Linked DNA regions of Homo sapiens: regions 1, 3, 4, 5, 6 and 7 are each linked to region 2. The links are contacts of gene promoters, found by promoter capture Hi-C in blood cells and fetal thymus (Javierre and others, 2016). All regions are on one chromosome and are shown on one strand. Each heading gives the region's core, a stretch centred on a gene start or on the middle of the fragment in contact. The rest is flanking DNA. Distances are from core to core; before and after follow the strand shown.

Region 1 (3,254 bases), core at 104-2,603, 550 kb after region 2:
CAGAGATTTTCTAATTAAAATGCTGTCACTTTAATATTTTTTAGCTATAGAATTTGACTGTAAATGTCTTCATTATGTAGTGTAACTTCTATAGCAAGTTATGTTAACGTTTTCAAGAATCGGAAATATTGGTAACTCGATGGGGTTCTTAAAACAGAAATAGTTTCTTTGATGAGTTGGAAAGAGAAGGAAATAAAAGTCTAAGGTAAGCGCCAGTTTCACCCTCAATTCTTAGGCTTCAGAAAAGCCTAATTAGGCAGGGAAAGGAATCTGGGCCTGGCACACCCAAGCTTAGACGTGGCAGGATCCTGAAACAATGTTTTTTTGAACCTTTGAGTCATATGCCACAGGCAAACCATAGCCGCGATATGCAGGTCCTTAAGTCAACAGGTCCTCTAACGAGATGGTGAGTGGTTGGTGCGTGGCAGTTGGATTTCTTCCCGCCACGGAAGAAAAGAACTCTTCTCCATTGATCAGGAAAGTGGGCCCAACTCTGGCCTGGAGAGCGCACCCGGAAAAGTGCAGAGTCGAAACAGAGAGAGAGGGGTGTCCGCGTCCCGGCCACAGAGCCCTTTCCAAACCACTCGGAAACCATTTAAATGGCTCGGCGGCCGCGGTTTGCAGCCTAGAACTGTTTGGGGTCCCCGGCTAGGAAAGTTGCCTGGCAAAGCCATGTCTTTCGCTGTCGCGGGATGTCCTCTCGGGCAGAGAGGCTGGAGGAGACAGGCAACCTGCTAGCCGGAGTGGAAGCGCGCCCGCCTCCCGCCGGGCCCTCCCTCTCAGGGTCCCCACGCTGCGACCCTCCCAAGGGCAAGTCCGGGGCCACCAGGTCTTTGGTCTCCGTCCAGCTCCTCAGGGGCCGCCCCATAGGGACTGGCGGGGGCACCGTGGGCGAGAGGGTGTGACCGGGCTCCCCCCCGAGGCGCCACCTGCCCCTTGGCCCAGGGCGCCCCTTTCGGGATCTCTCCAGGGGCAACCGACACACTGCTCTCGAGACCGTCTCCAACCGGCCACCTGGACCGTAGCCCTGTCCCCAACACGTGAACCCCTGCGGCCGTCCTCCCGCCTGCTCTAACGCAGCCCAGGGGTACCGCGTCTCCCTCCGCCTGCCGCCGGCTTACCTGGCGGGTGGGCAGGGCAGGGTGGCGGGAAGCGGCGGCCGGGCAGGCGCTGGACGTGGGCTAGGCGCCAGGTGCAGGTGGCGGCGGCTGCGACTCCGGTTGCTGTCGCCACAGTTGCGGCTCAGTAGAGCTCCTCCTCCGCCGCCGCCTCCTGCCTTCCCGCTGGGCCTCCCGCGTTGCCTGGAGAGGCAGAACCGAGGCTCGGCTTCCACTTGGAGTCTCCCAGGTGAGCTCCAGCCTGCGACGTCGGCAGGGGCGAGGCCCCACTTCCGCGCCTGCGCGCCAGCCTCCCGCCCCGCCCCAGCCCTACCTGAGCGCTCCAGGTGAGAACCTTGGATCGCGCGCGCAGGGTGGGGGCGCCGTCCGGGCCAAGCCTGGCTGTCGCGCGGCTTCTCTCTGAGTGGTCGGCGAGGCTGCTGCTCCGCGCAAGTTGTGGCTCCCGGCCCATCTACATTGGAGGAATCCTGCACTGACCTGGTGGCAGTGATCACCTTGTAGCCAGAACACAGTCTGCTGGGTCCTTGGGGAACCAGAAGTTCTAGATTTCCCCCACACGGTTCCTCCCTTCCTCCTCGGTTCGCCAAAATGAAGGGGTGCGCTGCCTCCGAGGACCACTTCGGGAGGGCAGCAACTGCTGGCTCATGTGGTTTCTTCGGGCAGGGTTCAGCAGCTTCTGTCACCAGTTAGGTTTCGTGAGCTTCCTTCCCGTGTAGTCTTGATTTCATCACTTGACTCACTTCAGCGCAGCTAGTGGTTTCCGTTTCTGTACGCGGGCGCTCTGGTAGGGGCGCCTCACGTCCAAAGGAGGAGTCTTCTTCCAAAGAAGAGCCTTTGGTATTTGGCAGAGCCTCGCCAATTTGGGGCGCACCTCCCCTTCCTGGGATGCTCTCAGAAGGCAAACCAATTCCCAGAAGAGAGGGAAAAACAGCCACAACAGAGAGAACCTTTGCTGTCCCTGTTTGGAAAGAGATTGGGATTTCCTGGAGAGGGCTTGCTTCTACTGCAGGTTTGTTTAAAAGCTCAACATCTATTCTGGAAGAGAACAACGCAGACTCCAGGAAGATGGTGGGTTTTGCTGTTTTTAAGACAAAAAAAAATTGTTAAACAGTATTTGTTCCATTTATGACACAACTTTCTGTTTCAGCCTTCCTTCTGCTGCTGCAACAAACATTGACACACCCAAAACCAGGACTTAAAATGGCCTTTATACCTTTCTATGAACTCATTTCTTTGGCCCTATCCCAAAGATATCTAGGGATATAAATAGAAAACTAGCTAAAAACTTTTTGGTGTCGTGTTTAATCACATGGTGGTAGGTTTTACTATGAAGTTTAGTTGTGGCCTTCCTCCTACATTTTGACATGCTCTTATGGTGCTTATTCACTGTTTTATTAGTGCTATGCGTGACCTAAAAATAAGGTTTAAAATACAGTTTAGTATAGTATCAACAAGTGTATCTTTAGTATTTGACTACTCTAAGACATTGGTTTTAGCATCCATAGTGCTATTTTATACTAGGACATCTATGAGTTAGGGTTTAAGACTTTAGTAAACTAGGTAGTTCTTTGCTTGTTTTACATGTCATGGTTATTTTGCGAGCACCAAGGAACCTCCATGTATTTGCAACATTTTAATATCAGTACCTACAAGCAATTGCCAAGCTCCCTTTCCCTCCAAAAACAAACAAACAAAAAAATAGTTCAGGAGATACTTGTGTGTATTGATATACTAACTTGGCAGTGTTTTTCCTTAGGTCCAGGTCCAGAACTGAAAATACTAACTACTGAAATTCTCTTCTCCTTCTCCTTCTTCTTCGTTGTGCCACTTTGTCGTTTACCCCTAACCAGAGGTTAATGTTAGTCTTTGGAAAATTTGTAAGGTATCCTAAATGTATAACCAAGAAACCTGTACCCTTTTGCACGCACCACCCATCTCTGAATGAAGAGCCAAAGATTGTCAGAGTTTTGATGTCCCACCAGGCGAAGAGCAACACTTTTCACTGACAATCAGGACAGAGCAGATGGATATAGAATAACAATCTGGAATCCAAGGACTGAGATGCATTGACAGCAAGACTAGTAACGTCAAATAACAACTGAAAAGAGAAGCTAGGGTAGACCTATTAAAAGAGAG
Region 2 (3,635 bases), core at 861-3,360:
CCTCCTAAGGAATGGACATACCTGCCATGTTTGAGTAATGAGAAAGAAGATAAAATGGCTAAAGTAGAGTGAGTGAGGGCAAGAATAACATCAGAGAAGTAAAGGAGTCTAGATTGTGAGCATTGTGAACACTGGGGAAGGCATAGACTATTCACAAGGAGATGGGTAGCTACTAAAAAGTTTTGAGAAGAAGAGTATGTGATATGATTTAGGGTTGAAAAGGATTGCTCCAGTTTCTGTGTCATATAACCCTATGGTCTTGAAACTGGGATATTGTATCCCTGGGGGCATGAGGTGGCGTGCCTAGAGGTACACAAAATCCCAGGATCAGTTAGTCACATCTTCCCTAAGGATAAAATTTACCCTCAAGACTATGGGGAAAAATGATTACTGTGTTAAGAAAAACATTTAAATTTTATATAAATTATTGTAAAATTCCCGTGATTTTAAAAATAAAGTATCAATAATATTTCATATTTGTGGCATCTTAGGCTTTAATCTTACAGGTTTAAGCTTCTTGGCCATCAGGAGTAATTTGTTGAAATTGCAAATTAATTTGGCAAAATTATCATAATTATGTGCCCTGAGAGCTTATGTATCTTATGATAGTGCAGGAAACTTGTGAGATGAAATAGTTGAGTGTATACATTAAAATAATTTGATCTACCAAGTCACTTTAATTATTTATTTGTTCAGTGTTAAAAATATATTTTCATAACCAAACTAATACATCTTAATAATGTTGTAGAAATGGAAGTAAGGTAAAATTTAAGAAACTGGGTTTGTTCTTCTGACTTGCTTATTAATACTGGATAAGTTACTGAAGAGTGGGCTTTGGTTTCCTCGTCTATTTAATAGTGTGGGAACAACCTTATGTTAAAGCAATCTATTCAGTATAACTTTAGCACACAGAAAATAAAATATTATGAATCCAAAGAAAGTGTAGCTTGCAATCATGTATTTTATTAAATGTATTTATCAGCATTTTGGCTTCTGATGGACATGTGTATATACATATTTTGTGGATAAAAAAATTACTTAACTATTTTTATATTAGATACTATCAATTATTCTGGCTGATCTGGGGACTTTTAATGGTAAATTTTATATCAAATCTGACAAAGACAGTATTTCAGACCCGTTTAAGACCTAGAACTCACCATGAGTTCTAAAATTGGTTCTCAGCACCATGGACAGCGTTACTGCAATAGGAAATTAAAGATCGATTTGGCCCCAAATTAAAATGGTGTTGTAAAAAAGTGGGAGAAAAAAAATGCCTATCCTTTTACTTCAAATTTTAAAAAAATGATCCTGGCCTTCACAACTGTTCATAAGAAGAATAATTAATTAAACAAACATATATTGAGAACATCATATGCTCAGTAAAACTTTGATTCTATAAATGGTGTCATTTACCAAATGGATTCTTTTGACAATTTAATTTTCTCTTATCTCTCTAAGAAGATGTAACTACACACTATAGTATACTACTACAATTATCAAATTTCATGTTGCATGTAACTTGTCGTCTGTATTTTTGTAGTTAGATTAGATTAACTAAAGATTTTTCAAGTTTGCCTTTAAGTCATTTAATTTTCCTGCCTTATCTTTAACCTTTCAACATTCCTCCAAACAATAGCAACACAAGTGTTATGTGTTAACTTCTCTAGTGACAAAAACTTATACTTCTCCACAAAGAGATGTGATGTTCATTATCAATAAGCTTGACATCTAAAATTGTTTTATAGGAGATACATATTACTTTTTCAGATGGTATATAAAGTTAAATAAATCTTAAGTTTTCAATGATGGGAAAAGCTTCCATTTAGTTTAAACATAATGTAAAGAAATTTGAATCCCCAAAATAGAATTATAATTCTAAAAATTCATACTATAATTCTTCTTAAATGTTTAAATTACAGTTAATTAAAGTAGTTGATTTCAAATAGAGTGGAATTATGGGCTGTACATCATTTAATTTTATGTGCTGACTGCTACATAGCCAAAGGAACGTGAATTAAGATGGTTCCACTTTTGACCAGGAGATGGAGCTGTCATGTAAGATGCTGCCTTTATTTATTTATTTTTCTAATTTAGCATGCTGTTTTCTAACAGACATTGGGTACCATCGAATGACTGTCAGAACAGAAAGCTAAGGCAAAGGAGGGAGGATGCTGTGGTCATCCTTTCTTGTTTTTTTCTTCTTTAATGAGGATAGAGCACATGTGAGATTTTACTTTCTACTCCAGTAAAAATTCTGAAGAATTGCATTGGAGACTGTTATATTCAACACATACGTGGATTCTGTGTTATGATTTACATTTTTCTTTATTTCAGGTAAGCCAGCATGATTCTATTTTTGACTTATCCACGGATTGTTATCTATGTTAAGAATGACATTTAATATAAGATGTGTGCTTTGTTAGCTTGTATTCAGATCTAAGAGATTCAAAAGCTCTAATTCTAGCTGTTGTGCAATTTAAAATCTTCCTAGGCTGAAATGAGCTCTGACTATGACATACCGTGTTTTATTATTTCTTTGGCTTTCTAGCTGTTGGTCTCTGTCTCTGGCTGTATTTGTTTACCTTTTAAAGGTAAAGCTTTCAAAGTGAAGGATGGGTTTTCCTTTCACAAGGGAAATACTGCTCCTTAATGCAGTGAACAAATTGTAGAGATATAATGAAGCAGATTAACATGGCAGTGGCTCTGCCAAAGCTCAGGGCTGAGCCTTCTGATTGCAGCCTCAGAGGCAAGCCAATATTCTGAGTCCAAAGGCCTTTTGAACGATTTCTGCTGGCTATGATGGTACAGATTGTTTATGTCTTTATTTTTACCTCTTAGAAATAATACGTAAGTCATTTCTCCCACATGAATCAAGATTTATGTAATGTGTTTAATAGACTTGGAATGAGACTATAGACCCTCCCTCCTCCCCCAGTATGGATGTGAGGAGTATGCTGAACACAAATTAATTGCCATGAAAATTGATTTTTTCTGTATTTTATTGGATTTGGGATAATAGAACCGTGGCCATTTTAAATAGTTGATATTATAGAAGGTGCTCACATTTTAAATTATTTTAGGTCATGTGACATTATCTGTGTTAAAGAGTGGAATGACTCAGGAGGTGGAAGTTGCATGCAACAGCCTTGCTTCTCTCTGCTGCTTCTCGTGATTTCCCTTAAATCCTTGCTTGATTATTATTAGAATAACAGGAATAAAGACATATAGAAATCCTATATTTAAAAACCACTGATTTTCATTTAGAGAAATTTAAAGAGATTTTACAAATATTTTAAAAATAGTTTTGTAAGATTGTTTTTAAATGCCTCACTTCTTTCTCCTGTGGAAAGAGCTGTGTGTGTGTGTGTGTGTGTGTGTGTGTGTGTGTGATGGTGGAGGTGGCAGGCGGTGGAGGTGCATCAGGATGTTTTTATCTCAGTCATTGTTTTCCTGTAAAGAGGTAGTTTTGCCATGTCAGAGGTTGTGAAAGCTATGGGGAATGATTTTATAAAATGGTTTGGACAAACCATGAAAAAAACATGTTTTTTAAATGTGTGGAATCTATAGAGTTTGTAGTTCTACATGGCTCCATATACATGGAGATTTTTAGAATTACAGATATTTAACCATTT
Region 3 (3,618 bases), core at 832-3,331, 520 kb before region 2:
ATTTGTAAAAATAAAATGTTATCTTTTGGTGGGGTGGGGGAAGTTTATTTCTGATGTCCTGTATCTCCCTGTGCTACATCCTTTTCCTCTTTGGATGGCACTTCCTCCACACTCCTGAAAATCTAGGGCTTATGCATTCTATTTTCTTATTCTCTATATAAACCTGTTTTAAGATTCTTCACTGATGGCATAGAAAATCTTAGCCTGCCTAGGTTTTGTAGATTAAGAAAAGTCATATAACATCAGAGTGAAGGGGTATAAGGAATAGAGGTGGCATGTCAGATCCCAGACAACTATAATAACGAGAGAAGAAATAGGTCAGCAGTACCAGGGCCTGGAGCTCTTACATCTACACTAGGCCAGCTATCACTATGTGGACAATTTTAATGCTGCTCCTACCAATCTGCTGAAATAAATATTATGAGAGGAAGCAATGAGGTTACAGCTAGGTTCACTTATATGTGATCTAAATACCACCACCAACAGTAACTTGTACCTTTTTGGTTAATAAAATTAAACCCATTCAGGGGATTCTGAGTGGCCAAGCTTGCCACTAGATTTCTCTTAAAGTCATCTACTTTAAAACTCATTATTAGTCAATGGTAACATGGTTACCATGGTTAACAAACTCATTAACCTAAGCATGTCGTCATCAAATATCAAGTCTTTTACCTCTTTTTAGTAATGCAATACCTATGCAATTGTGTTAACTTTTGTGTTACAGTCAGGAGTTTGGGAAGAAAGATGTCAGTCAATGTTTTATTTTGTTATTGTACTTTAAGTTTCTGAAATCCTCAGAGGAGTAATGCCAGGATTAGACACCGTCATCTCGTTAACGTTGATCAAACCAAAACAAGCACGTTCATCTGTTAGAGGCCAATTTTAAAAAATAGCAAAATAGCATAATTTTGTAATACTAGAGTTGGAAGAGACTTTGGGAAATTTAATTACACAATCTTATTCTACAGAGGAGAAAACTAAGTCATAGAGAAGTTCAGCAAAGGTGAAGGAAAAAAAATGACAACGGCAAAGAAGAAGATAATAGACCTATTAGTAGAATTCAGGAGTCTCTCTCTCAGGCCAGGTCAGGACTTCTTCTTTCCAGCCCTTGTCTAGGCACAATAGAAAGAAACACACACACACACACACACACACACATTAAAAAATCCCATGTTATTCCCCTGTAAGTTTTTTCCATTTGTCTTCCTGAGGCAATCCGTGCTTTCATCAACCCTATGATACTCTGATAAAGTATATAAACTAAGTCTTACTCATGATAATCCTCTGCATACAGCATTTAGTAAAAGCCCAATGATGAGGGTCTAGCTCAATGGTACATCTTGGATGAAAAAAAAAAAAAAAAAAACCAGGATGAACCACCAGAAAGCAGAGCTCAGGATCAAGTTTAAAAGACAGGGAATGGTGGTAACCATGATTCCCTGTGATCACAGTGATGAGGATAGAGGTGTTTTTAGCCACAGGGTAGGAGAATGTGAATAATCTAGAAGTTAACCGAGTTTAGGACCTATACCAGAGTGAAGCTACAGTCAATCAAACAAACTGGGGCCAACTCAGTTCATCCAGAAAGGCAATTAAGGCTGGGAGCAGGCTTATCCCAGGGACACCTTAAGGTTATCACTGTGGCTCCAGAAAAGAGGCCTGCTTCTATCTGCCCTGGCCTCTGTTAACACATGCTGGTTACCAGAGAAATGCAAATCTTCCCATGAGGTCACAAACATCACAGAGATAGAGAGGCTAAGTAAACTTCATACTGGTAAAGTAAGCCTCCTAACAGTAATTATTTTCAATACTATTTTATTAACTCAGCATGTTATTTTAGAGAGGTACGACTTTTTACATACTAATAGACAAGAATGAGAAATCCATATTAATTCCACAAATGACCTACTGCTCTTTGAATAATATATTTTTCCTTAAAGTTTAACAACTTATTAATTCCTCATAATTCATAGTTCTTTTAGGCTAAAACTGTCAGAAACCTAAAATGTAATGGCCCAGAGGGTTGTCATAAGGATTAAATAAGTAATGTTCTTAGAGCCTTGTCTGAAACATTAGTAAGCATTATATAAGCATTCACCATTGCTTTTGTTATTGTGATTATGACCCTTTGAAAATCTGATGAAAACTACAGTGGCAAAGTATGTATTATATCTAGGAAAGCCTTAAAAAGGGGAGCAGATTAAATATTATACTGTGTTGGTACATTTCTCTACTGAATGAAACCAGTCATATTTTTGGAAGTATAGACAGCTGTATTCTGTACAGCAAACTGCAAATGCCATGGTAACCACTGTTCCTAGGCAATTGTAGAATTATGCATGGTGGTCCACTTTCTATATAATAAATATAAGAGGAAAATGGAGGGGAAAATAAAATATAACAACCTGTGTAAAAATCTAAAAAGGGGGATGTTTCTTAAACATTGCAAATACATACTCTATTACAACAGAGGGTACAACCTTACATACTCTATGTAAAATAACTAGGATTAAAATTAAGTAAAATAGCAAAATATGTACCTGTACATTTCATAAGTATATGACAATACATCATCTTATCTGCTTATAAACCATGATATATATTAGAATATAAAATTGCATAAAAGATGAATAATGTAAAACATTTAAAAAATTAAGTCAGTTATTTTAAAACTAACACTCTAGGTATTAAATTTCACTTGCATAATACTAGATGGCAAAGAGTTTCCGTTTCTCAATAGTTGAGTGTTTGTCTGAAGCAGGATGCAAAATGAGATAAAATAAAATGCCCAGTGAAGATCATTTCTTACAGTGTTTCCAGCCACAATGTAATATCCCAGAGAAAATGATGTGCCATCCCCGTAGCCAGGAGAAAAATTGATTGCTGTTGTATATCCATCATTCCAAGCAGCAGTCACACCAAATGTGCCAAATGAAAAATTCTCCAAAAGGTTCTGTGAATTCTATGGGTCAAGATTACCAAATACTTTTCCCTGACTCTTCTTCCACTTATTCAAATGTAAAATCAGCTTATGAGGCTAATTTGTCAATAAGACCAGAACATCCTTTGGCCATTGATTTTATTAAATGTGCTCTTCATAAACTCTTGGTCAGCAGATACGGTGCAGAAACTAGATTTCTGAACTTAGATTTATCTGAGAATTCTAAGTCACTTTCAATTTAAGTCAATGTAATCGAATTTCTGACTTCCCATTTCACAAATGACAATCTTATCGTAAATAACTGTGTACATTTTATATAAGAATATATGTTATATGGTTCATATAAATAAAGCATGATCTATTATATGTCTTGTTGCACAAATGGCATTTCAAATCATCAGGAAAAATCATATTTAAAAAATGCTCAAAAACTACCAAGAAATACTGCCAGAAAATTTCTAATGGGAAAGTTTTCTTTTCAAATGAACATTTTCATAGAAGATGATATATTCACCTTCATAGGAAAAATGACATGAGACTTGAAATAATGTGAAAGAGGGTACATAGAAATTTAGGGATTTGAAAGGATACTGCAGCAATAATAGTAAAATATGTGTTCTTCAAAATGTATTCTTTAGATGGAAAAAATAATTTTAGATGCAGAAATATTCTAAGAA
Region 4 (3,499 bases), core at 508-3,007, 580 kb after region 2:
TTAGACAACTTCGACTTTAGAGTGTGGTTTCTTATTTCACCAGTCAGGATAGCTAAGCTGTTCTGCAGTAACAAACAGCCCTAAAGTGTCAGCTCTAATACAACAGAGGCTTTCTTTTTTTTTTTTTTTTTTTGGCTAACATTATGTGCCTATCAAATCAGCTTGGCTCTGGTATATATTGATATCCATCTGGGATCCTGGCTGAGGGAGAAGCCCCTCTCTGGGACATTTCTGATCTCATGGCAGAGGAAAAGAGGTCCTGGAGGATCGTATACTGGCCATTAGAGCTTCCACATGTCATTAGCCAACATGCATCACATGGAGTCATCCCACAGAGAAGGACAGGGCCAGGAGCAAGACAACCCAGAGAACAGCCGTAAATATCTGGAATAACAGTGCAATGTACCACATAGTTATTGAGTCAAATCCTTTTCCAAGTCATATCCCTCCTTCCCCATTGCCTTTTCTCTTTACCAGCTCTACAAATGTTAGGAATCCTTAGCCATGTTTTCTTCGAGCTGTCTTTCTTCTAGTCTAATTGGCTCCAATTCCTCCACTGACCTGTTCCCTGTATCTAGTGGTCTTATCTGACATTCTCTTGAGCCTTTTCAGCTGTCTCAAGTCAACTGGTGAGAGAATTGTTGGTCTATTCTCCAAAGGAAGTGGTCCCTTGACATACTTTCCTTTAGGATGATGGGTTTGGCGATGTGGCTGAGCCTTCTAGACAAAAAAAGCTTTCCTTAAACAATATCTCAACTAATCAGTCTCCAAATATTTTAGTAGCTTAAATCTTTAGGCTTTTCACAAATGCCCAGACACTTTGCCTGTTATATATTAGAATGTAGAGATGTTTGAGCACTTCCAGAGGGCAAATGTCACATCCCTGACTATACTTTAGGTAACTTAGCAATATATATACATGGTTGTATTGACAAAACTCCTCAAGCCTACTATTTTTTCATAGGACTGGCTCAGAATGTGGACTTTGGAAATAACCAGTCTTGGATCAAACCCTGATTCCACTCAGTACTACCTATACGACCTTTGACAAGTTAATTAATCCTGAGCTCTTATTTCCTCATCTAATGAGATACAGACAATAAGAGTTATCTTTCTCATGTGGCTGTTGAGAGGATTAAATGACAACAGTGGGGCTCAATCAGTGTCTTCTTTTGTTACCATACTGGGGTCCTAGCACTCAGAGCTATTTCTGGTCTTACTCAAGGACCAGGTCCTCTAGCATCCCTGGGTTTACCATGGTTATGCATAGCTCCCTCCTCTCTCCCAGGTGTCCTTCTCTCCTCCTGAAATGTTTCAGCCTCAAGTCAGCATCATCCGAGCTTGACCAGTATCTCTCAAGGTGTTGTCCAAGAACAAGCTGCACTGGAATCACCTGGAGGCCCACGTGGCTCCATTTCAGACTAACTGACAGAGTTAGAAGATGAAACTAGTAAATCTGTATTTTAACAAGCTTCCCCCAGCTAGAGGTGCCAGATAAATTATAGGACATCCAGTTAAATTTGAATTTCAGATAAACAATGAACAATTTTCAGTATAAGTATGTCTGTCCCATGCAATATTTGGAACATACTTATACTAAAAAAAAATTTATTATTTATCTGAAATTCAAATTAAATGGAGTATCCTGTACTTTTAATTGCTAAATCTGGCAAACAAATCTCAGGGATTCCAATTCTTACTAAATTTGAAGACCACTGGTTTAAGATATTTGGCAAAAATCTCAAATTCAACTTCATGAGCTTCCAAGGAGGGAGGGAGGGAAAGAACGAAGGAAGGAAGGAAGGAAACGAAAGGAAAGGGAAGGGAAGGAAGGAAGGAAGGAAGGAAATGAAAGGAAAGGGAAGGGAAGGGAAGGGAGGGAAGGGAGGGAAGGAAGGGAAGGGAGGGAAGGGAAGGAAGGGAAGGAAGGGAAGGAAGGGAAGGAAGGGAAGGAAGGGAAGGAGAGAAGGAGGGAGGAAGGAGAAGAGAGGAAAGAAAGAAAGGAAGAAAGAGACAAAGAGAGGAAAGAAAAGCAAAGCAAGCGAAGCTTATAGACGGAACACAGATGGCCCATGCATCCACAAAACAAATATGCACAAGACCAAGTAGGTTAGCATTTGTTTCAGCAGCCACAGTGGCAAACATAGACAATCCAGCAGCCAGAGAAAAATCCACTTCCTTGTTTCTCTAGTTTGGAATTGGGCTTTAGGTGTCTCTGTCTCCTTCTGCTGCTTTCTCCTTTTTTTTTTTTTTTTTTTTTTTTTTTTTTGTCTAAACATCTCCATGCTATGCTAGCCAACACCTACTCATCCTCATTTGGTATTTCCTCTTTTGCTTTTTTGCTTTCCTACAAAGCATCTTGGGCCCATCCTCCTCTGTCTGCCCCAAACATCAGAATACCTAATCAAATAGTCATATAGCCATCTTTCTCCCTCTAATATTAAGTGTGGACTCCCTCAATTTTAGTTTTCTGATGGGATTTTCCTAATTCTCAAACCATTCTGTCTTATGTGTACTAGAGTAATGCATTGTGTTTTTGGTTCGTGTACATTTACAGAGGCCTTAAAAGAGACATTAGCTGATTTTTCACAATAACCCCATAATCGAGGCAGATGAAAAACGGAGCCCTTTTATTCCTAGGCCAAGACCCTTCTTACTCAGCCATTGTCTCATCTCAGGTTATTATACTCACATCATTCATTTGTCATTTTAGAATAGTGATTAAAGCACAGCTGTGTGCCTTGGTTAGTTTTATTTTTTTCTTAACCAATCTAAGCTTCCATTTCCTCATTTGTAAACTTAGGTTAACAATAGTGCCTACATCATGAGCACTGGGTTTAGTCAGATGATCAAAGTCTTAGCACTGTGACTGCAAATTGTAAGCACTCAAAATATTAGCCATTATTAAAACTATCTTGTGGGCCAATTCTTTTCCAGGCCCAGCTTTTCTCTTGTTGTCTTTCAGCAAATAGAGATATAAAATGGAAAACTTAGACTAAAACCAGCAGAACAAGAAGTATCAATGGCTGCACAAGGAAGTAATGCAGACCTATGCTAAATTTTCTCTTGGTAAACACTTCCTTTTTCATACCCCTCTCCCTTGAACTTTTTCACCTCCACTCCTACAATTTTATGTTATGCAGAGTCAAAAATATAATCATCCTAAACTAGGCTCAGCAGTGTGGACAGTAACTGATTGAAATATGAGGTTCTTTAATTAGAAGCAGGAACTAGAGTATAGTACTAAGAATAATGGTAATATAATTATTTGCATCTTGTCTAACTTCCTCATTTACACTGGCCTTCTTCATTTCTATCTCATTCCCTGATAAATATGGTATCTCAAAGCCAAATGTTTGGGACTCCAATATTATCATTGTGTTCACCTTCTTTACCCATTAGGGCCTTTATATGATAATAAGTGTAATATGATATCCCCAATGAATGAGATAGAGTGGCCCATACAGGAGCGACCTCAAAGCACTTTTTCTGTACTGCA
Region 5 (3,635 bases), core at 700-3,199, 890 kb after region 2:
TGTTCTGAAAAGCAAGACGGTTCACACTAGGAACTGAGCAGTATCTGCAGTATCATTGCTGGTTGTGACCTCTGTCTAAGTAAAAGTAAGTCAATGTTTCCTATTTGGCATTGGATAGAAAAGGGGACTCTTTACCACTCTGCTCAAGCTCTTTTTTAGTGTGGCTCAATAGGAGTTGGCAGAGGTGGGGGGCGGAAATCATTGCCCCTTCCTTGTTCAAGGCATGAGGCATTTCTTCTCAAAAGCCCAGCCTCAGCCTCAGGAAGCTGAATACCCCTGCAATGCTAGGCTCCAGCAGCAGCCCCGCTGCCTTCTTTCTTCCTGTGGAGTTAAAACTGAGATCTAATTTTTGCTCCGTCCTTAAGAACAATATGACCTCTATTCCCAGCCAGCTAGTCCACTTCCAAAGCACCAGTGAAGGAGGGGGCTTCAACAGGATCAAAAGGGACCTTGAATAGGATGAAGGCAAGCAAAGGCAAGAACTGGCCAGATGCCAAGCTATTTCAGGCCAAAGAATCCCATCTTCTATCAAAATGCTGAACTGCAAAACAAACCTGATTTCAGTTCATGGAAGGTTGAGAGAGGAGGGGGGAGGGGAGGGGAGGAGAAGAGGAGGAGAGGGAGGAGGGGGACAGTTGGTCTGAATACACATACAAAAATGGACTTCCTGCTCTGCCCAAACTGAATTTCCATGGACTCTTTTTCCAAAGGAATAACTGGAATGAATAAACTTAAAATCAAGATGAAACAATTAGATGGCTTACCTGATTAAAAGGAAAATTATCCATCTGCAGTGAGGAACAGCATCACCCAAAGACGAGATGATAACAATGTGCCTTCAGTTGCAATTGTTCAGATTCCTTCTTGCAAAAGGTGTCAAAGTATTTACAAGGGCTGCAGTCTCACTGGGGCAGAACACACAGACACACAAACACACACAAACGCACACATACACACATGCACCAGAGACCTCTGCAGTATCCTCTCGGCTTCATCCTCGCCTCACTCTATGGTACCTAATACAAATCAGCAAATAGCTTGTTTCAAAAAAAAAAAAAAAAAGTCAAGACAGCACCTTACATTACATCGCCATCTAGTGGCTAAATATTAAACACTTTCTCACAATCCAGATTTATGATTTCTTCCTCAACCTCTTTTCTCTCAGCCTTTTTTCCTTTCTTCTCTGTAATCTCCCAGTATTGCTTCTCCTTGCTTCTCTTTCATTCCCTATTGCTATATAATATCATGAACCTAATGACTCAAAGAGGAAAAGGTTTGAAAGTAAATATAGCTATTTTCAAGTAGTACTTGAAAAACTTTAGCATTATTTTAGTTTGAAACTGTTACTTTATTCCTAATATGAATCATTGTTATCTATAAAAATGATATATCTTATAAATAAAACTGTCTTTTTATTCCACCAGGAAACAATCAGGTGGCCCTTTATTACAGATCTATGGCTTCACATTTTTCTGTTTTAATATTGTGTTTTAGGATTAGGTTTCATATTATAGTGAACAGCTCAGAGTCACAAAATGTGAGTTTTACTTCAACACTGATGAACACATGCCTTTAACAAAGCCACTGAAGTCTTCTATGGACATTTACATTCTTACTATCTTCATCTGTAATTACAGATTAAACAAGACTTTCAACCCACTCTCAATTTCTATGGTTTTACTATATTTTACTCCAATGTTTTCCCATCTTGTGGACACAGCCTAAAGCTTAATTATAATAACACATTTTAATAAGCAAATATATATAGAAAGAGAGTCCAATTGCCTATTACCCAAAGATAGAATTATAAAAACCATGAATATCAGTTTTTTCTAAGACAATAAAAATCCATGCCAAACTAATTATAACTCTTGGAACTGAGAGTAGAGCTTTTTATGTTATATATTGTATTCTAAAATGGAATCAGCCTTAAACATTCAGTCATACATAAAATCACGATTATGTGTAGATTAGTCATTGGAAGTAAATATTTCATCCTCATTATTTTTCTTTTGCCATCTAACACACTTATTACAATCATTGCATGTGTTTTATCATTTATCAATATAACCTTCAATATTTAATCCTTCTCTTCCTTATTACAGGATGGTGAGATAAATACTATTAATGTTATTATATTATAATTATTCCTATTTATACTTGAGAACACTGAAGCTTTCTGAGCCTTACTGAGGTTTATTCAAGACCACATAGCTTGCAAAGCAATAAAACTAAGGCTGTTGGTCCCAAGAGCCCAAAGAATAATCCACTGTTCTTTGCAACATACCTAAAAGTTCACCATTTTTTCCTGTTCTAGAATCACAGAAAAGTAATTTTGATTTCTATGTTTACAAAACATTTACTAGCCCTTAATTATGGACCAATGGGTCCATCTTGTGGATCCATCTTTTTATCTATAAAAGAAAGAAATTAAGTAAGATAATTTCCTGTTCCAGCTCAAAAACTCTATCCAGTGCTTTCCCAAAAGCCAGTTGGAGTAGCATGAACACATTCATTTGAAGTTACTCAATGTCTGGGAAATGATGTTGCCCAGTATCTGGTAGAGTCAGGGCAAAGTTGAAAGAAGATGAGGAGACAGGTGATCAACAACTGGTAAACGATTGCCAAGATGTTAGAGATGAAAAGAGAGTGGGAACTGCATGAACTAACAGGCAATTTTTTTAGAATAATACATTCCATATGAATAGTACTTAGAGATTAGATATGTAAAAACACAAAATAAGAACATACCTGGCCACATGTTTTAATGAATTCTAATTGCATATTATAGGTGCCAATTTTTCTGAGTGTCTGCTCTTAACAATTCCCCCAATAGTTCTTCTCCCCTGATCCTTAGTGGTAAACCTACCCTCTTGCTACAGAGGACTGGAGCAAGAGAGGGTATCTACGCAGCTGACCTGGTCAAAGAGAGCCACTACATGTGATTCTGGCAGCTATGGAGTCAGCTTTCCCTCACCATGGGGACTCAGGACCAGGTGGACCAGGATACTGAAATAGCAGCCAGCCACACAGATGTGGAGGAAGAAGTGACAAAAGACAGAGACAGACTGTTTCCATCTCCAGTCTACTCAAGATCCAAACACTTTCTTGATGTTGAGTCCCATGATAAACTCAAACTCCATGTTTGCTTAAGTGAACTTGGTTTCTGTTGAACTATGGAGTCCTAACCACTTCATTAGCTTCAAGAAAGTTGCCAGTACTGCATCTATCAAGTATTATTCATATTCTGGGCATCTGACACTTCATTTATTCACTTCTTCATGCACCTGATATATGCCAGGCACTTTTCCAGATACTTAAGTAACATCGGCAAACAAACCAGATCAAAACCCTCCCTTTGTGGAGTTTACATTGACATGTCAGTCATATGGAAAGGCACAACGCATTCAGTGTGCACACTACCTTTCTTCCGCCTCCATGTCTTTGTTCACAACCTTCACTTCTCTTGGCAGACCTTTCATCCATCTACACATAGCAAATTCGGCGGATATTTTAAATGTCTGGGTCAAATATTCTCTCTTCTCCAACGTCTTTTCTATTTTCTCAGCAGATAGAATTCTTTTTTCTTTTGTTAATTATAGAACAATTTTATGTTGTATCTTATGAAACATGGT
Region 6 (3,494 bases), core at 588-3,087, 520 kb after region 2:
TTTTGCTTTCCTTCATTTTAACGTACTAAGAAAATAACTTTTTTAAAAAACCATTATTAAACTTCAAGGTATTTGACCTACAGGCAAAATATTAGAGAAAAAGTACATGTAATATCTAAATGTATGCAAAAGTAAATACTCAATCTTATCAGTTCAACTAAAGAAAATATTTTCTTATGCCAACTTTGATGTCTTGAACCCAGGCGTTTTAGCAAAAAGTATGAGTCTTTAGGACTTCTGGCTAGCTTATTACATTTACCATGTAGATCTATGTGTCCTGTGGTAACCAACAGGTATTTGCTGATTTATGTGCCCCTTTGTGGGGGACAAGCAGAGCATAAGCTTCATTTAGTGCCCACTTGCCTGCTTAGCCAAGTACTATTGTACAGTACACAATCTGCCCAATTTGTCTTCATGGCCTTGGGTAAAAAGATAGCAATCTAACTCAGTAGTGCTCTTAATTTGCATCCTAACAGGGAGATACTGGAGACCAGAGAAAAAGGGAAAGAGGTAACCAAATCGTTCTTCACCGCAACAGCCAAAATATTGATACCCTTGACTCCCAATAAATACTCCACCTTCCCTCACCCTGCAAATTAGCACTATCTATTTCCTACAAAGAGATGAGTACTATACACTGAAGCATGGTCTTAAACTATCTAGTTAATTTACCTTATCTAATATTATTAAGACTATTGGAACTCACTTCTAATATATTAGGTTTCATGATTCTGCAGAGCAGAATCTATTTATGGCAGGTTAATAACAAGAGTACCATATATTTGTTAGCACTTATCACTTTCTTATTTCACAGCTACTCTGGGAGAGAGACAGCATGCGTATTTCATCTCTTAAAACAGGGAAGGAGAGAAAAGAAATATGTTAAGCATGCACTCCATGTCCAGCCACCTTGCAGCCACTCTATGAAGTGTCTTCCCTATTTTACATTCTCAAAGGCTTTGCCAAAGTAACATCTCCAGTAAGTAGTGAAACTAGAGCTTGAAAAAAAAAGGCTTGGCACTCCTGGTTTATTCTCATGCCACATTAAGACACTGTCTCTATCTCCAGTGCAAAAAGTCACTTAGAACCTTTATTTAGGTGTTATATCTCCTAAAACCAGTAAAAACAGTTCTACTTAATTTTCTTCGAGTAAAATATTGAACCAGGGCAGCAACAAAAATGAACTATCTTTCATATTAAAAACATCAAGTAGAATTCCTGATTTTTAAAAAGCAGTTTACTTAGTTTTTTTCTTAAAAAAGGAAACTTGGATTCATAAGTCATGTACTTTAAGAGTTAAAAACCTACTTTCAAATTTTTTGATGTTTTGTACTTGAGATGAATCGACGCAAAAGGACGTGTGAACTTGTTATAGATTTTATTGCAATTTAACTACTTAGCTTTAACTTACTTGTTTAACAATTTTTGCTGCATCTGTATTTCTCCTATAAAATATTTCCTTGTATTCATCCATCCAGACTTCTGCAAGGCGAACTTGGTTTCTAGCAATCACCTGAGTGCCTTTTGGAAAGCTATGAGGGCTTTTGCTGCGAAAAACATGTCCAACAACAGAGCAAGGCATAATCTCCAACTGCCCACCACATTGCCATACCTGATAATTAATGATATTTGTTTAAATTTACAGTATTTTAGAAAAATCAAAGTGTTGCTTTTAAGTTCACCTTTAAGGTATTATGAAAAACAAAATTAGAGAAGAGATTACAATATTACAAATAGTCTCTGTCCCCTGCCATTTCAACTTAAGTTCTTAAGTGTAAGGAATTATTTTATTAAATGGCATAGACACTAAAGACAACAGAAGTGCATTTTCAGTAAGTTAACAAAATGGTGATTTCAGATTTTTCATAAAAATGAATTCCAGGCTTTTGTTTTTGCAAATAATTATGTAAGTTCTCTAATATGCACAGAAAACTAAAGGCTCTTATGCATTTGACTTCTGTCTGAACTACTGACATAGTCACTTCACTTAAACTAGAGTTTCTCTTCAAAGTTTGGATATAAGTGGACTCAGACCCTATTTATCTCTTGTATATTCAATTTTGTAACCAAGAAAACAATTCCAGATGGCTATTATTACCAATGATCATTCTACTGAACTTGCAAAGTAGAGGATGATTATTTAAAAATTCATGCCAATTTAGAGAGAAAACGTCAAAAAAAATCCTTATTGGCATTAATGCTAAATAAAATGGCAAATCATGAAATCAATGCCTTTTCACTTAAATATCTTAATAATTGACTCTGCCATAGTTACCAAGCAAAGAATCAGAAAATAAGTCATATTTAATACTATGTGCTTGTAGTAGAGCAAGTGATTACAAATCTCTTTCTCTCCTTTCTTTCTTGAACAAATGAGAAGACTCAGTGATATGTTCAATTCAACAAACTGTGCTTGTGACCCAACACGTGCTAGGGGTTGGAAATACTGAAATGAATAAACAAGACCCCGCCATAAGCAGTTCAAACTTGGCTAAGATCATCACTGCCAGTATGTGATGGAGCCAGAGCCAAAACTTAAATCTTCTAACTCCTAGTTCAGTTCTTTTTCCACTACATTCCAGCCTAAGAGATGAAAAATGAATGATAAAGTTACTGCAGAAAATGAAACTCATGAAATCAAATACATAAGGTACATACGGAGTCTACCCAAAGCCTTTTTTTATATTAACTTATAATATGTATAGAAAAAATCAAGCTCATTCATTCCAAACAGTTAAGTCCAATGTCCTTTAAAATTATTCATAAATGTTTTTCCATTCTAACTCCCTTGATGATCAACTCATTTCCTGAAGCACTAGATTTAATTATATTTATCTTGGCTGGAATTCAGTAGCTACAAGTGCATTAATTGGTGTTACTGCCTGGACACAGGAGTTTAACTGATTCCTCTTGTTACACTGGCGACAATGAATAAATATATTAAGTTACATATTAAAAGAAAATATTCTTATTCCAAAATTTCCAGCAATTAAGTTTCAGAAAGCACAAAAAGTAGAGTGCACACATCTGTAATCATATGTACCAGCCGATTAGAACACAATATATTTCATTGTTTAATATATCTGCTATATTTAATTTCCATAAACTTACTCTGAAAGACATTTCTATATTTTCACCTCCCCAGATTTCCATTTCTTCATCATAGCTTCCAATATACTCAAAATATTCTTTTGATATGGAAAAAAGTCCTCCTGCAAAAGTGGGTGTTCTGAAAAATAATCCATTGTCAAATTTTGTTATAAAAACTAAACAAGATAAAACAGCATATTTTAAGAACTGAAGTTAAAAAATTAAAGCCATATCACATTTTCAAAGCTTTTATTCAGATTAATAAAAACTAGAAATGCTATCTTCAAAGTCAAGATTTTTGGGGTCGGGGGGAGTACTTCGTGTCCTCTCCCATTGGAGTAAACTTAAATGTCTTCTCCTAACCATGCTTTACGATTTTTAAGTAATGATTGATGAGGAAGACA
Region 7 (3,432 bases), core at 778-3,277, 650 kb after region 2:
TTCTGTAGAATTTAACATTCCAGTAGAGAGAAATATATCAACAACACAACAAAACAGTAACATCGTCTCTTCCGCCAAGAAGGGGACATTGTGTATGCCCAACTATATACCTAATTTTTAATAAAAGTTAAGTAATTAAGTCAATCTTCAGAAAATAAACAACTAATCAAAATATATGTTTCTATACTACCAAATAAAGATACCACATGAAGCTGAAAAAGGAAATCCACTAACCTCAGATGCTGCTATTTCAGTGAAGGTATTTAATGCTTGTTCAACATTAGATTTCTGTTTGGTAGCCATTAAGCAATAGTTTTCCATTATGCGAAGCTGTACGTGACCCTGAACAGTCTGAGGTTTTAGTTCCTTAAGAAGTTTTTCTGCTGTTCTTACTGCCAGTTGCACAGATTCTTGCTTCTCAGTTGAATTACTGTATATAATTAAAAATAAATCACTTCTGTCTCTTACTCATGATACAATTCATTGAGATTAGAATCAGCTTTTGTACACAAAAGCTCTGGGCACTCTTTTATACTCTTTTTGTCACTCATTTAAAAGTAATCTTTTGTAAAGAATGTCACTCATTCTCTTCTAATACAAAGTGAAGCACAGTTACAATGCATTTTAAACAAAATTAATATGGACTCAATAAAACACCATTAAGCATTAATTTCCTCTAGAATGAAGACAAAAGTTGGATAATATCTACATGTTGTAAATGTGTGCATTCCAGCAAATATAAAACTATAAGTAGAATCAGAAAATTAACATATATCTATTCAAAAAGTGAAAGGAAAGGAAAAAAGTGACAAATACTGTATTATTTCATTCTATGTTTAATCCATTTTACACACAGGAAAACTGAGGCTTGAACAGGTAAAGTAATTTTCTAAAGGTCACACAGCTAGTAAGTGGTAAACCTAGGACCTGAATCTAAGCTTATCAGACATATAAAATCTACTCTGTTCTCTTCACCACATTGCCTATCAGACTCTCAGAAATTATATATGTGTCAAACAGTAATTTCAAGTGCAATTTGAATATTTAATAGCAATTTTCTTATTTTATACACACAAACCCATGCACATAAATATACATAAATCAATTAATAAAAGGAAATTAAACACTCAAAGTCCAATCACTAAAGCCACTGGTCTTCTTCTCAGGCCTTAGGCTTATCTTGCCTAAACATGTCACGCTGTTGACTACCACTTCAAAGTTCTTCTCCCTTGGCTTCTGTAACACTACACAGCTTTAGTTCTCTTTTCACCATGCTGATTGCCCTTTTCTGACCTTCCTTCCTCCTCCAGACCCCTTAAATGTTAGCAAGCTTAACATTTAGTTCTCAGATTTTTGTTACTTCATTCTACCACTCACAAAGAGACCATTCATGGAGTTCCAACTATGCACTCTGCAGATGTCTCCCAAATCTCTATCCCTAGCTGTGACCTCTCTTTCTGAGTTTTAGTTTTGTATTTTGAATTGCCTGAAGAAGATTTCCACTTGAATAGCTTATAGTTCCATAACAGTAATGTTACCTCAACCTTCCTAAAACAACCATAAACATGCCACTTCCCTGCTCTAACTGGTCTCGGTAATCCAAGCGTTAAAATCTGTTGTTGAAATCTCTTGGCAATCTACCACTAATTTTCTCCAGCTCCTCCATGCATCTTCTCCTGAATACTATGCACTGCTATGATTCCTAATAAACTCTGACAATACTTAATATCTATTTAAATCCATTTATATTTAGTTGCAGATTGAAAGGTTTCAGGTATTGTCTTGCCTCTTAATTAAACACTCCTGAAGACAGAAACTACCTCTTATATTCCCTTTATGTCCTAATACATTCCCCACAAGCCTTGCCTGAGTCAGAAGAGAGGACAAGCTACTAATGCAGGTTGATAAATAACCATTGACTAGCAGTATACCACACTAACAGCAGTCAGGACTCAGTCTAAATCTTGCCTCCATCATTACTATCACATTAAACAAGTTGACTCAGCTTATTCTGCAATACTGTTATAGAAAACAAATGAGATAGTGTGTAGAAAGTATAGAGGACAGGGTCTGGAAAATAACTACCATTTGTTAAGTAGTTACTATTATTGTGTGGATAATTTTTGCTACAGTTGTCAAATTCTACAATTAGGGGAGTGTCTTCATAGCATGTCTATTATTATTTAGGAAACCTAAAAGCATTTCATGCCTGTTTCACAGAATAGTTACATTAGCAATAACTATTCTATTGAATAACTATTCAATTTGCTAAAATAACTATTCTCTGAAACAGGCAATGAAATGCCTATTTATTTAATTTATTCATCTGACCTTTCATTATTGCTATCCTAAATTTAGTTCTTTTGTATAGTATCCCTGTTTATTATCTCCAACAAGTGTTTTTTAAAAAAGGATAATATGTCAAATAACTCACCCCAGGTCTCCATCCAGGTTTTCAAATACTTCACCTCCAACAGTTTCATTATCTGGATTCAAACAGATCTCTATCATATTATAAAGGGCATTTTGGCCCCAGTCACGATCTTTCCGAGCTTTATTAAAATGTCGAAGGGCATCATTTGGTTCTCCAGTGTACCTTGTTAGATGTTTAAAAGAATTATTTATTTCAATCACTGACTACAAAATTTATATTAGTTTATAATCTGTCTGGTAAATAAAACTGTTGAATTATTTTGAAATGTACATTTTTTTTTACTACAAAGAAAAGCTTATTCTACTTGATTTACAATGAGAAAAAAAAATCATGTAGCATTTATTTGTAAATAGATTTACCAAAGATACAGTCCTTTACAATACTGAAATCCTGGTTCCAATTTTGCTCTGGAGTTACGTTTCTCAGCCATTGAGAAAAATCTTGGGACATCCTCGAGTTTTCCACATCTTCTTAGGAGATCAATCAAACGAGATAATGTCATATAATTATCTAGAAACAAATAATACTTCAGATATGGGCACCATTTTATACTGTTTCTTTTGTTGGTTATAATTCTACTTCATTAGAGTATAATTTACTTCATATAAAGTACATTTTAAATATAAATAAAAAATGCCTCAGGGTATAATTCCCTATAGAGGCTGTATGGCCAACTAGATGATCTACTAAATAATACAGTTTGGGCTAGGCTGGTCACAGTGTCTACATAGGCAAATCTAGAAAAATGCATATTTCTTGTAGCTTTTCTATTGTTTGGGGGACCAAAACCTTAGAGAAACAGCCCCTACCTAGGTAATCTAGACTTTCAACTGTGAAGTTCAGGAATACCGATTTAATTGCACAGGACAAGTTCACTGTCGGTCTCTGAGAACCCCTCTCCTACATACTGTTGCTAGGAAGGGTGTGGGAACAGTACAATTGACAAATAATGTATGGGATGGACAATAAGAAATTTTTCTCCAGTCTCTCTTTGATAT

The links. The method cuts DNA at HindIII sites, captures the fragments that hold promoters and counts their contacts. A CHiCAGO score of 5 or more calls a contact.
Region 1: a contact is called between the fragment with the promoter of GALNT3 here and the fragment with the promoter of SCN2A in region 2, in 5 of 17 cell types (megakaryocytes, M2 macrophages, erythroblasts and 2 more). The highest score is 10.6, in megakaryocytes.
Region 3: a fragment that was not itself captured here is called in contact with the fragment with the promoter of SCN2A in region 2 in 1 of 17 cell types (total B cells); the score reaches 5.3 in total B cells.
Region 4: a fragment that was not itself captured here is called in contact with the fragment with the promoter of SCN2A in region 2 in 1 of 17 cell types (megakaryocytes); the score reaches 6.0 in megakaryocytes.
Region 5: a contact is called between a fragment that was not itself captured here and the fragment with the promoter of SCN2A in region 2, in 4 of 17 cell types (naive B cells, total B cells, fetal thymus and 1 more). The highest score is 7.6, in naive B cells.
Region 6: a fragment that was not itself captured here is called in contact with the fragment with the promoter of SCN2A in region 2 in 1 of 17 cell types (megakaryocytes); the score reaches 5.3 in megakaryocytes.
Region 7: a fragment that was not itself captured here is called in contact with the fragment with the promoter of SCN2A in region 2 in 1 of 17 cell types (megakaryocytes); the score reaches 6.4 in megakaryocytes.

Annotation. Positions count from the first base shown.
Region 1 is chr2:165,792,894-165,796,147 of GRCh38, forward strand. It overlaps GALNT3 (polypeptide N-acetylgalactosaminyltransferase 3), which reads right to left and starts at 1,354. Exons shown (of 11, transcript NM_004482.4): 1 at 1,122-1,354. LOC124906086 reads left to right here and starts at 693. Exons shown (of 6, transcript XM_047446887.1): 1 at 693-899; 2 at 1,026-1,444; 3 at 1,907-2,186. The coding sequence starts at 693. RefSeq lists enhancers at 104-1,010, 1,011-1,916 and silencers at 987-1,076, 1,147-1,296. The HindIII fragment of the contact is 5,078 bases long and covers 289-3,254 here.
Region 2 is chr2:165,237,304-165,240,938 of GRCh38, forward strand. SCN2A (sodium voltage-gated channel alpha subunit 2) reads left to right here and starts at 2,111. Exons shown (of 27, transcript NM_001040142.2): 1 at 2,111-2,337. The HindIII fragment of the contact is 782 bases long and covers 1,817-2,598 here.
Region 3 is chr2:164,713,024-164,716,641 of GRCh38, forward strand. All of the region lies in intron 7 of COBLL1 (cordon-bleu WH2 repeat protein like 1), which reads right to left. Among named protein-coding and RNA genes, the nearest start is that of SNORA70F, 27 kb to the left of the region's middle. The HindIII fragment of the contact is 3,074 bases long and covers 545-3,618 here.
Region 4 is chr2:165,812,705-165,816,203 of GRCh38, forward strand. No RefSeq gene overlaps it. Among named protein-coding and RNA genes, the nearest start is that of GALNT3, 20 kb to the left of the region's middle. The HindIII fragment of the contact is 576 bases long and covers 1,470-2,045 here.
Region 5 is chr2:166,127,007-166,130,641 of GRCh38, forward strand. SCN1A (sodium voltage-gated channel alpha subunit 1) reads right to left here and starts at 1,014. Exons shown (of 29, transcript NM_001165963.4): 1 at 765-1,014; 2 at 1-4. All of the region lies in intron 2 of SCN1A-AS1 (SCN1A and SCN9A antisense RNA 1), which reads left to right. The HindIII fragment of the contact is 448 bases long and covers 1,726-2,173 here.
Region 6 is chr2:165,755,636-165,759,129 of GRCh38, forward strand. GALNT3 (polypeptide N-acetylgalactosaminyltransferase 3) reads right to left here. Exons shown (of 11, transcript NM_004482.4): 6 at 3,112-3,229; 7 at 1,412-1,612. Among named protein-coding and RNA genes, the nearest start is that of GALNT3, 37 kb to the right of the region's middle. The HindIII fragment of the contact is 2,994 bases long and covers 341-3,334 here.
Region 7 is chr2:165,888,045-165,891,476 of GRCh38, forward strand. TTC21B (tetratricopeptide repeat domain 21B) reads right to left here. Exons shown (of 29, transcript NM_024753.5): 23 at 2,794-2,944; 24 at 2,435-2,596; 25 at 235-430. Among named protein-coding and RNA genes, the nearest start is that of TTC21B-AS1, 44 kb to the right of the region's middle. The HindIII fragment of the contact is 1,398 bases long and covers 1,329-2,726 here.